2 separate regions of the Homo sapiens genome follow, and region 2 is linked to region 1. The links are contacts of gene promoters, found by promoter capture Hi-C in blood cells and fetal thymus (Javierre and others, 2016). All regions are on one chromosome and are shown on one strand. Each heading gives the region's core, a stretch centred on a gene start or on the middle of the fragment in contact. The rest is flanking DNA. Distances are from core to core; before and after follow the strand shown.

Region 1 (5,526 bases), core at 38-2,537:
GCTAACTGTGATTAGAGCAGATTTTGGCCCATTAAGGGATCAGCTATCAGCCACCTGTATTGGGCCATTGGGGCAAAAGAACAAAAAAATAAACCCAGAAGTTTACTTTTGAGGAACAGGGAATCGAGGTGGGGAGTGAAGAAAAGCCCTGGATGAAGGTTCCTGCATGGAGGACTTGCAGGACTATTGTCCTTTCCAGAAAATGCTGTATCTTTATCTCTTAAATACGTGGAGGGCACTCTTCATGCCCGAACTACCCAGTCCCTTAGTCCCCAAGGAAGCTCTTGTGTGACCTCCTCCTGCCCCACCTCCACCACTGCTTTCCCGTTGTCAGAATTCCCCACCTCCTCCAAAAAGCCAGAGTCCCCGTGCACTGTACCAAGGCTGGGTCTGAGAATGATAACCCTGCCTTCTCCTCTAGGTCAGGCTCAAGGACACGACCCATGCCTTTTATTTCTGGGTCCTCATTACACAGCCGAGCCGGGCACACAGGCGCGTTCAAATAAATGTGGAAGGGAGGACCGGGCGTAGTGGCTCATGCTTGTAATCCTGGCACTTACAGAGGCCAAGGCGGGAGGATCCCTTGAGCCCAGGGGTTCCAGACCAGCCTAGGCAATATAGGGAGGCCTATCTCTATTTAAAAAAAGAAAAAAAAAAATGTGGACGGGAGGAAGAAGAGAGGGGAAAGAGAAATGCTCGCGTAACTAACCATAGGCACCCCACGTCGCCAACCAGATCAAAACTCAAGCTTACATCTACTCAATAAAACAAAGGACCAGGGCCTGAATTTCAATAAGGTTGGTTACGGGACTGGGAAGGCGGCTTGGAAATACCTAGTCATCTCCAATTCTTTTACGGAGGAAGAAAATGATCCCCTAAAGTGTGAGTCCGTGACCGAGTAGGGTCTGGGACACTAATCCGAGACCAGTTTGAACCCGAGCAGAAGGGCGCAGACACCCCTACGAACCACATCCCGGGGCGGATTCTCCAGTTCGGTCGGGTGGGAGGGGGCGGTCCCCGGCACCTACAGGGCCGGGAGAGTGATCCCAGAGGCCTCCCCGCCCAGTACCCGCCGGCAAAAAGCCAGCGGCACCCCCACGCCGCCCGCCGCCTACCGCCCGCCGCCAGGGCCAGGATCCGGACCCAGTCAGGACGCTCACCTTGCTCTCGGGGACGGGAAAACGACCTCTCGGAGAGTACAGTTCTGGCGCGGCTTCGGCGGGCTGGAGCCCAGAGTCTAATTCAAACTGCCCGCAGCCGCCACCGGTGCCCAATTCGCCCGCTTCTGGTCTCAACCAAACTTACCTCCACGCCTATTGGTCACTCTAAGTAGCTGCGGACCAATCCGCGCCTGCGCACTCAGACTGCCGCGTCTGATTGGCCCTTTCGGATGGATTTTAAAAACAAGCCCTCTACTGGAGGTGCCTGCGCCGGAGTTTACTGTTCTTTTTTGTTGTTGCGGGGAGACGGAGACCACGTGCTTTTGCTAATGCTAGACGCGGTTTTGGACCGCTATTTCCGCAAAAGTCAGGGAATGCGCCCGCTGATTAGGAAGGCGTGGTCTATCGCCTACAGCCAGGGGAACTGTGCTGCCTGGTGAAACCTCTTTTAAACTGCACGTACCAATCTACTTAATTAAACGTAAATTTAGGACATAGATACTAGGTGCTGTGTTTGTCATGCATTCTTTATCCGGTGTCGTTCTTAACAATTCTTTGAGGAAAGTATTATCCTCATTTTATTAAAAAGTTAACAGGCTCATAGAAGCTAAGTACAGTAATTTGAAATTGAATCTACGCAATGCAGGATGTCGCTCTTAAATGCTGTCCTTTATGGTTCATATTTCTAAGACGTGATTCTGAACACTTATTTTCCGGGATTAAGGCGTGGGGGGAGGACACTGCATCAGAATTTAAAATTCAGAAGAATCCTCAAAACGGGGTGTAATGCTTTTCGTGAAGCCCACTAGTTTTCTATGTATGTTATATACTCGTTTTATTTCCCTATTAAACTATAAATAAGCTTCTAAAGGCAGAAGCAAAACAATTAATTGTTAAAGTAATAGATCTCTAATGCTGTTGTCTGCCTCAATAGGTACCAAACTTTCCAGCCCCCTGACTTTACCTTTCATTAGACTGTTCCTGCAGTACCCAATTCAAGTGTCACTTTTTTTATAAAACCTCCCTAATCCCACCCACTCCTTAGAGATAATTATTTCCTAGACCTTTCCTGGAACTTGCAAACTTCATGTTTAGGATTTTCGCCGTGTCTTGTCTTGTATTTATGTCTACGTCTGACTCCCCCATCAGACTCAAAAATTCCTTTACAGTAAAATCTGTTTTAATTCATTTTTGCATCCCTAGTAACTTTGCACATAGTAATTTAAAATCCAGATCATCTTGGGAGATAAAACTGCTATTTGGGGAAAGGCCTTGTTCTTACTATCTTCTACCTTCGAATCCCCAAAGGGAGGGGAGAGAGCAGGTAGGGGAGGAAAACTTTTGTCAGACATTGCCATGATCAGTCTAGTGTCTGGTAGTTTTAGAATTTGAACCAAATTGTGTCTGGCTTCAACACAAATTACAATTCCATTGCTTCCCAGAGTAATTATTCAACTATGTATAGGCTGTTTAAGGAAAAATAAACAGCTAGAAAGACAGATAATAGAGGATATTTTTAAGGTTTGAATAAGAAATTTGCATTTACTATTCATTCATTCGTTCTTCAGCAGATATCTATTGAGTGGCCACTGTATAGTCAAGCCTTGTGCTTCGTTTTTCTACAATGAACAATAAAGAAATACATTCATTTCTTGAACAAGGGAAATAGGATGGATACCATTCTAGTAACTCCTGTGATATTTCTCTGACTTTAATTTTATGCTTCCCTTCCCCTCCCTTTATTTTTCCCCCGGTTGGTTTGTTTGTTTTGTAGGGGGAGGATCCCGTCCAACCAAAGACAGATGTTCTCTAAGGGTCCATTTTTGGCTCTCTGCTCTTCTCTTTTTAAGTCCTTTCCCTCAGTTAGCCAGTCTACTCTCTCTGGATTGTTCATCCACTACCTCGATATTCTGCTTGTGGACCAGTGTCTTTGAGTCTTCCCATCTTTTCTACAGATTAGACTGCAGGTTCATCACTGAAATCACTCTTTTGCCAGTGTCCTCAACTCCCTTGCCTCTTGTTCTATCTCCCAAACTTGTATGTGTGCAAATGTCCATATCATCCCTTGGTGCACTATTGCTGCAGAATGGGGCTGGAAAAAAATCCCAGCACTGTGCAAATACTTTAAATGTAGGATGTCTAGCTGGGCCTCAATGCTGCTCCACAGCCCTTTCTCCCAGTTTCAGGATTTCTCTAATCCGCTGCAACAACCATCTCCATTCTTACTCTCAGAAGATGACTTTATTTTCTAGTTCACAGAAAACATAAGATTTCTGACAGGAACACCTTCAACTTTCTGAGACCCAAATCTACAAATGTGTGAAAATCTATACCCATTCTTACCTCCTTTCTTCCTGTTACAACCATGGGAAATGTCTTTCTGACTACTCCTAAAACTGAACAATCATACTGTGTTTTGAGGCAACTTGCTTCTCAGGAACTTCACTCTCCCAGTTATGCACTTGTAAACAAGAATCTTTAACTGCTTCTACCTTCCTAAGTCTTCCTAGTAGCACTTAAACTGCTCAAATATTTCCCTTTAAAGAGAAATATTTTCTCAATCTCATGATCCCCTGAAGGAATCATCATATCTCCCCTCACATTCCATTTCCTTTTCAGATTTGATTAAATAAGTTGCGATACTACTTTTCATCAATTATTTTTCTCCAAAAAAACCCCACGAGTACTTTCAATAAATGAGAGCCGTCTCTATAGCTGCATCATGAAGACAATATAATCTATTATTTTAAGCAGCAGTTTACTTTTCATTTCATATTATTTTTCATCTTATTAGAACTGTAAATATTTTATAATTACACGATTTTATTTTTTTATCTATTCTGAAATTTTCTTTTCTTTCCTTGAGATGGAGTCTGGCTCCGTCACCCAGGCTGGAGTGCAGTAGCACAATCTCGGCTCACTGCAACCTCTGTCTCCCGGGTTCAAGCGATTCTCCTGCCTCAGCCACCCGAGTAAATGAGATTACAGGCACGCACCACCACGCCCAGCTAATTTTTGTATTGTTAGTAGAAACGAGGTTTCACCATGTTGGCCAGGCTGGTCTCGAACTCCTCACCTCAAGTGACCCACCAGCCTCAGCCCCCAAAGTGCTGGGATTACAGGTGTGAGCCACTGTGCCCGGCCTGAAAATCTGTATCCTTTTTTTTTTGAGACAGTTTTGCTGCGTCGCCAGGCTGGAGTGCAGTGGCAAATCTCGGCTCACTGCAACCTCTGCCTCCCAGGTTCAAGTGATTCTCCTGCCTCAGCCTCCTGAGTAGCTGCGACGTCAGGCGCACGCCACCACGCCCAGCTAATTTTTGTATTTTTAGTAGAGACAGGGTTTCACCATGTTGGCCAGGATGGTCTCGATCTCTTGACTTCGTGATCTGCCGGCCTCGGCCTCTCAAAGTGCTGAGATTACAGATGTGAGCCACCGCACCTGGCTGAAAATCTGTTATCTTTAAAACAAAACAAAACAAAAAAAAAACTTTAGGGCCGGGCGCAGTGGCTCACTCCTGTAATCCCAGCACTTTGGGAGGCCGAGGCGGGCAGATCACGAGGTCAGGATATCGAGACCATCCTGGCTAACATGGTGAAACCCCGTCTCTACTAAAAATAAAAAAAAATCAGCCTGGTGTGGTGGCACACGCCTGTAGTCCCACAGCTACTCGGGAGGGCGAGATAGGAGAATCGCCTGAACCTGGGAGGCGGAGGTTGCAGTGAACCAAGATCGCACCACTGCACTCCAGCTTGGGCGACAGAGTGAGACTAGGTCTCAAAAAAAAAAAAAAAAAAAAAAAAAAAACTTTAAAAAGATAGACGTTACATAAGATAAAATACACTCATTTTAAGTGTACAGTGCAATACATTTTGACAAATATATTCACCTCTATTAATACCACCAAAGTAAGAATATAAACATTTCTTGATATTACAAGTATCTTTATACCCCTTCCCAGTTATGCACCCCAAAAATTCCCAGACACAAGCAACCATTGATCTGTTTTCTGTCACTTACACATTAAATTCATATTTTCCTAGAGTTTCGTAGAAGTGGAATTACAGTGTGTACTCTTTTATGTCTGTTTCTTTTTTTTTTTTTTTTTTTTTGAGACGGAGTCTCACTCTGTCGCCCAGGCTGGAGTGCAGTGGCGCGATCTAGGCTCCTTGCAAGCTCCGCCTCCCAGGTTCATGCCATTCTTCTGCCTCGACCTCCCTAGTAGCTGGGACTACAGGCACCCACCACCACGCCTGGCTAATTTTTTTTGTATTTTTAGTAGAGACGGGGTTTCACCGTGTTAGCCAGGATGGTCTCAAACTCCTGACCTCGTGATCCGCCCGCCTCGGCCTCCCAAAGTGCTGGGAT
Region 2 (5,749 bases), core at 2,613-5,112, 2.6 Mb after region 1:
TTAGAAGGATCATTAGCAGCAATGTGGAGAATAAACCGAAGACAGACAAACTAGGAGGCCATCTGGGAGACTTCTTACAATCCAGACAAGAAGGCATTAGGGCCCAACCTAGGGAAATGGAATAGTAAAAATAGAACACATCCAGCATACAGTAAAGATGCATAATCATAACAGATAAAGAAGAGAGGATGGATTCAAGAGATTTTAACGAAATGTTTTGAATGTGTAACTGTGAGGAAGATGAAGAAGTCTTTAATTTACTCAGGTTTCTGGCAGGTTTAAATAATGAGGCCACTCTCTAAAATTGGTAATATTGCAGGTTTGGGGGAAAAGCTGAGTTCAGTTTTGGGTATTTGAGTTTGAGATGCTTGTGGGATTGACCGTCTAGGTGCTAATCAACCCACACAGCTTTTATAGAAATGAATCTCAGGTACAGGAAGTCTTCCAATAACATAATTTTGTACAATGTCATTTCGTTATACTGTTCATGAGGAAAAAATCAATTCCTGTTTGAGGCCATTGGCCGTGTGGAGTTTGTACATGCTCTTCCCATGTTCATAGGGGTTTTCTCCAGGTACTCTGGTTTCCTCCCACATGCCAAAGATGTGTATGTTAGGTTCACTGGTGTGTCTACATGGTCCCAGTAGACAATGAGTGTGTGTGAGTGCTTCCTGTGATGAAATAGTGTCTGGTCTAGAGCTGGTTTCCACCTTGTACCATGAGCTGCCAGGATAGGCTCCGGGCACCCACAGCCCTGAGCTGGAATAAGTGTGTCAGAAAATGAATGAATACAAATCATTGTAAAATAAAAATGGGTAAACTTTACAATAATCATACAAATGAATGACAATAAACGATTTGGTATGAAAGGGCTCAGTGAGCTGCCATATTTGTGATTGTTTTTGACCTGGGTGGTGGTAGGAGGTGCTCCTTCCAATTTTCACTTTGCAAACATTTATTCCTTGATTTAGCCCACCACCACTATGACCGAGGTCACTCGCTGATACACCAAAACTTGGATAATTATCTCACCTGTTTTTATTAATCTTTCTCAAATATATGTATAGCACACAATTATTTCAACATTTAATATTAAAAGTACTTTGAGTCTTTCTTTAGAAGTTCGGTGGTGTTTGTGTGACCAAAATATGCCACTGAAACAATTCTTATTTATATCAAGTAGCCTATGGTAGAGTTAGTTTAGTTATACACTGTTTTCCCTAAAGTCACAGTTTCCAAGAGCCTATCTAGACATTAAGTGAGGACTTACTATATAAGTAACAGAAGGTTGTATGTATGTAGAAGTGGAAGAAGCCCTGGTTGTGGCTGTGATCATCCAAAGGAGTAGGTAGAAGAAGAAAAGGGGTCAAGGATGGAACACCAACACTGAAGAGGAAAGGAGATGATTCTATAGATTTCATATAATAACGAATGAATTTCAGTGACTATTATGTAACAACGAATGAGTACTTGAGAATAGGAAAGAGGGAAGGGAAAGGTAAACACATGGAGAATTAGGAGAAAATCTGTCACAAAATAGAGGCTGAACAGCTCCCCCAGAACACACATATAGTAAGGTGTGGAAGTATAATAAAACCCAGGCAGTTTAACTTCAAAGACAGAGTTCTTAGCCACTGTGCGTACTGTCACTCTTAAACAGAGGACAAAGAAGTTACTCAAACAAGGTCCCAGGAGAGACAGAAAGAGGAGCATTTAAGTATAATTACAAAGATTATCTAAGAGGGAAATAAATAAGGATGGTATAAAGTTTCAGACTGCTAGCAGGAAGTTGAGGGACTACTTCTCAGTCTCTTTCTCAATATTATTTTCCTAGACTCATCGCTGAATATAAAAATTCCCTTCTCAGGTTCGTTTTCCACATAGTTTCAAGGGGAAAAAGAACCTCTGGCTATAGTCGACCTTCACATGAGTGAGATTTTATTTCTGTCCAAGGTTAATCTGGGTAGTTAGCTCCCTTATCTGAAACTTACCAAAAAGTTTAAGTTGATGACATCCAAATCTAACCTCAAATCTCTTATTGCCAATGTTTTAGCGTAAGAAAATAAGTTAGATTTCTACGTATTAACATGGGAATACGTTCAACTTATACCATTAAAGTGAAAAAACTGGACGTTTTGATCCGATTTCTGAAAATAATAGGTATTACCTCTAGCGTCGAAAACATCTGGAATAATATACTTCAATCTATTAACAGGGGTCATCTCTGGCGGATGTGGTTACAGGCATCTTTCACTCTATAATTTAAATTTTTATGACCGTGTAGTAAACGGGGAAAATAAGATTTTGTTCCTGTTAGAAGCAGATATCCTGTCTTCTCTGCTTGACTGAGTTCCTTAACAGCGGGTCATATTCACTGGTATATACCTATAGCACATAGCTGGGCTCACTAAGATTCTACAACAAACGAATGAATTAATCAATGATTAGGAGTTTTGAGCATCTCAAATAACCGTTGAAGGAAACATATACACACAAATGCATGCATTTTCCCGTTAACGCGCAATGGAGATGTAAGCTGTAAGGGGCCTTGGAAGGCAGTTATTTCGACGTCCCTGCCTACGTTACGATTTTAAAAGCCCGATTACGATTACAAGTGTCCCGAGGGGATGAAAGTACAGCTTTCTTTAGTAGTCCCTGCTAACACTAATTTACCCTTGCCATGGGAGAACTCAGAAGCTGAGTTCAGAATTGGAGTCGGCCCTGGTCGGAGGTGGCGTGTGTTTCGGGGGAAATGAATTCCGCCAGCTCCGAGCAGCGGTTGGGACCGTTACTCACCATTTCTCAGGACGCCAAGCTGGGGCTGGCGGAGCACCGAATTGAAGAGCATCAGGGTCGGAGGAAAAGCCTCAGCTGAGAGAAAAGTCGTAGAAATGCCTCCAAGTTCAGCAGAAATCGCAGCTTGCGCCTCTCACAACACAAATCGTTATCGCCTCCAACTCCCGCCACTGTAAGCCCCGGCCGCCAAACTCCGCGCCAAACTGACGTCACGCTCTCTGATTGGCTTCCGAGCGACGTCCGGGCGCCTCAGAGTCATTTCCCCCTTCGGATCCCCGCCTCCTTTTCTCCCAGCCGCGGGAACCTGGAGTCCAAGAGCTCCTTGAGCGCCTGCGCAGGGGGTAGCAGAGGCGCGGACAAACCGCGGGGTGACCAGGGCGCATGCGTAACAGGGCTTGACAGCGCGCGGAAGAAAAACCAGCAAGAAGGCGGCGGGGGAAGATGGCGGTCCTGGGGTAGAGTTTGCAAGCTTTCTGACTAGGCTAGTCGAGTAACTATTCGGGTCATGGCGTCAAACTCAACTAAGTCTTTCCTGGCAGATGCCGGCTATGGCGAACAGGAACTGGATGCCAACTCTGCCCTTATGGAATTGGACAAAGGTATTCGAAAGAGAGGGCTGAATGGGTGAAACAGGCGTGGGGGGAAGTGGCGCCACCAGGTGGTGGTTGCTTTGGGAGAAGACGGATAGGCGCATGCGCATGTCTTCGCTGGGCGGGGAGCGCCTGTGCTTTTGCTGGGGCGTGGGCTTTGACCCCTTCGGGAGGTTGCGGGAAATTTGCAGGATTGTGTGACTGGCCTTATACCGGCTAAACAAGTAGCGAGCTCTAGTGAGAGGCCCGTTTTGACCACTTGAGGGAGCAGTCCCCCGATTTTCTAAGCAGTGACAGTGGCTAGTTTCTAAGAGACACTGCAAAGAAATTGTGAAATTGGTTTTCAGTCTGTTCAGTTGAGACCAGGTCTTCATGAAATGTGCTGAATAGTAATCTTGCACCGACTTGACAGCGATTCATTTGATTTCCATAGCTCTGTTACCTGCGGGTTACAAGGCAGGCTAAACCTGGCCAAGACCATAAAAAAGCAAGGGCCCTGCTCATTCTCTGCGGACAAGTTCCAGGAGTTCTGTTGCCGTACAGGGAGCAGCTTGGTGTAGAGGGAGCTTTGGGGTTACACTGAGTTAAGTTTCAATGCCGCTGATTTTATGATTAACTTCATCTAGCCTCGGCTTGTCGTCTGCAAAGTGGGTACAGTACCATTGAGCCGGCAGAATTGTATTAAGTGACTTAATGGTATGCAAAAGAAGCATTTAGTAAATGCTGAAGAGATATACCTCCCTTCTTAGATGTGGATATGGGAGGCAAGGTCGGAAATTTGTTAGTAAAGAACTCGACTAGTAATATGAAACCTTTATTTCATATTGAGGATTTTTATTGTACGGGAAACATTTCGGCAGCTGGTATACAATTAAATCTTGATTAATCGTAGCCAATATATAATGTTGGAGAACTGGACTAGAACTCAGAAGGGTTTGAGCCACTTCCCAGTTTTCTGAGTTGGACATGTCTATTAACTTTTTTGGGACTCTTTTTCTGTTTATTTTTTAAACTGTGAATATTTTTAGTGGGTTAGTCTAAATAAGAGTTTCTCAGGCTCTTAAAAAAGCTTTTACCTTATTTTGATAAACACAAAAATTTCACAGCCCCCTAATGGGATATTCCTTTGGTTGAGTCTCAGTATCTTTAGTGCACCCCCATCAACCAAGAAAATTATGTTGAACTTTTCCTTCTCTTACCAAATCTTTAGGGGTTTTCTCCTCTGAAAAAAAAAAGTATAATACTAAATGTGTTTTTCTCTTTTTTTTTGGAGACAGAGTGTTGCTCTGTTGCCCAGGCTAGAGTGCAGTGGCGCCATCTCGGCTCACTGCAACCTCCGCCTCCCGAGTTCAAACGGTTCTCCTGCCTCAGCCTCCCGAGTAGCTGGAATTACAGGCGCCCGCCACCACGCCCGGCTAATTTTTGTATTTTTAGTATAGACGGGGTTTCACCATGTTGGCCAGGCTGGTCTCCAACTCCTGACCTCAGGTGATCCGTCCGCCTCGGCCTTCCAAAGTGCTGGGATTTACAGGCATGAGCCACCGCGCCCGGCCTTAAATGTGTTTTTCAAACACTTTCCTCCTCATTCTGATACATTTCTTTCTTATTCCTCAGTGAAAGTTACAGGTCAGGATAATATCTAATATCCCTACGAGTTCTAAGGACATTTTCTACCATTCTGGTGCAGCTGAGCTTGTCTCATGCTGACAATAGGATAGTGGTTGTGGAACAGGGATAAAGATGGGGCACTGAAGAGGAGTCTAGAATGGTTTAATTCCTCAAATTTTGCAGTTGTAAGAAAAAAACCACAATTTTTCCTTTTTAAAGAAGAGTTGAAATGAAAATATTTTATATCTATAGGAAAGAAATCAGGTGTCAATCTTAGACACAGAGTAAGTGATCATTTGCACTCCTCCCAGCAATGCCTGGCGTGAGTGTTTTACAGGTGAATCTCAGGCTCAGAAAGATGACTTGTTCTTTTTCATCTCATCTGTAGTAACTTTTAAAGCTGTTAGGAAATTAAGTTATAGAAATAGCCAGTTTCGTGTAGAATATAGTTGAGTATTTTAAATATTGAGTCATTTCATCTTGTACCTGTTAAAGTATTTCTGTTTTGTGAGCTAAAGGTCAGAAGGCTACAAGTTCCAACTCTTTTTTTCGTTCCCAAACTCCAAGGAATACTGTTTCTGAAATATCTCCCCCACCTCAGCATACACACTCAGACACATGACTTATTTGATCGGGCTTTGTACTAGGAACATGGCAGTTAATGAGACAAAACTCCTGCCCCTATAGAGCTTACATTCTAGACAGCAGATGCAGACACTCCGCAAATATAGCAAACGTGACAGTTAGTGATACAT

Evidence for each region. The method cuts DNA at HindIII sites, captures the fragments that hold promoters and counts their contacts. A CHiCAGO score of 5 or more calls a contact.
Region 2: a contact is called between a fragment that was not itself captured here and the fragment with the promoter of CENPF in region 1, in 1 of 17 cell types (fetal thymus). The highest score is 9.6, in fetal thymus.

What each region holds. Positions count from the first base shown.
Region 1 is chr1:214,598,956-214,604,481 of GRCh38, reverse strand. It overlaps CENPF (centromere protein F), which reads right to left and starts at 1,287. Exons shown (of 20, transcript NM_016343.4): 1 at 1,161-1,287. RefSeq lists a silencer at 1,184-1,393. The HindIII fragment of the contact is 1,274 bases long and covers 751-2,024 here.
Region 2 is chr1:212,032,990-212,038,738 of GRCh38, reverse strand. INTS7 (integrator complex subunit 7) reads left to right here and starts at 3,182. Exons shown (of 20, transcript NM_015434.4): 1 at 3,182-3,395. The coding sequence starts at 3,302. DTL (denticleless E3 ubiquitin protein ligase adapter) reads right to left here and starts at 2,991. Exons shown (of 15, transcript NM_016448.4): 1 at 2,797-2,991. The coding sequence starts at 2,848. RefSeq lists enhancers at 2,172-2,706, 2,722-2,961, 2,707-3,243, 3,122-3,331. The HindIII fragment of the contact is 1,190 bases long and covers 3,268-4,457 here.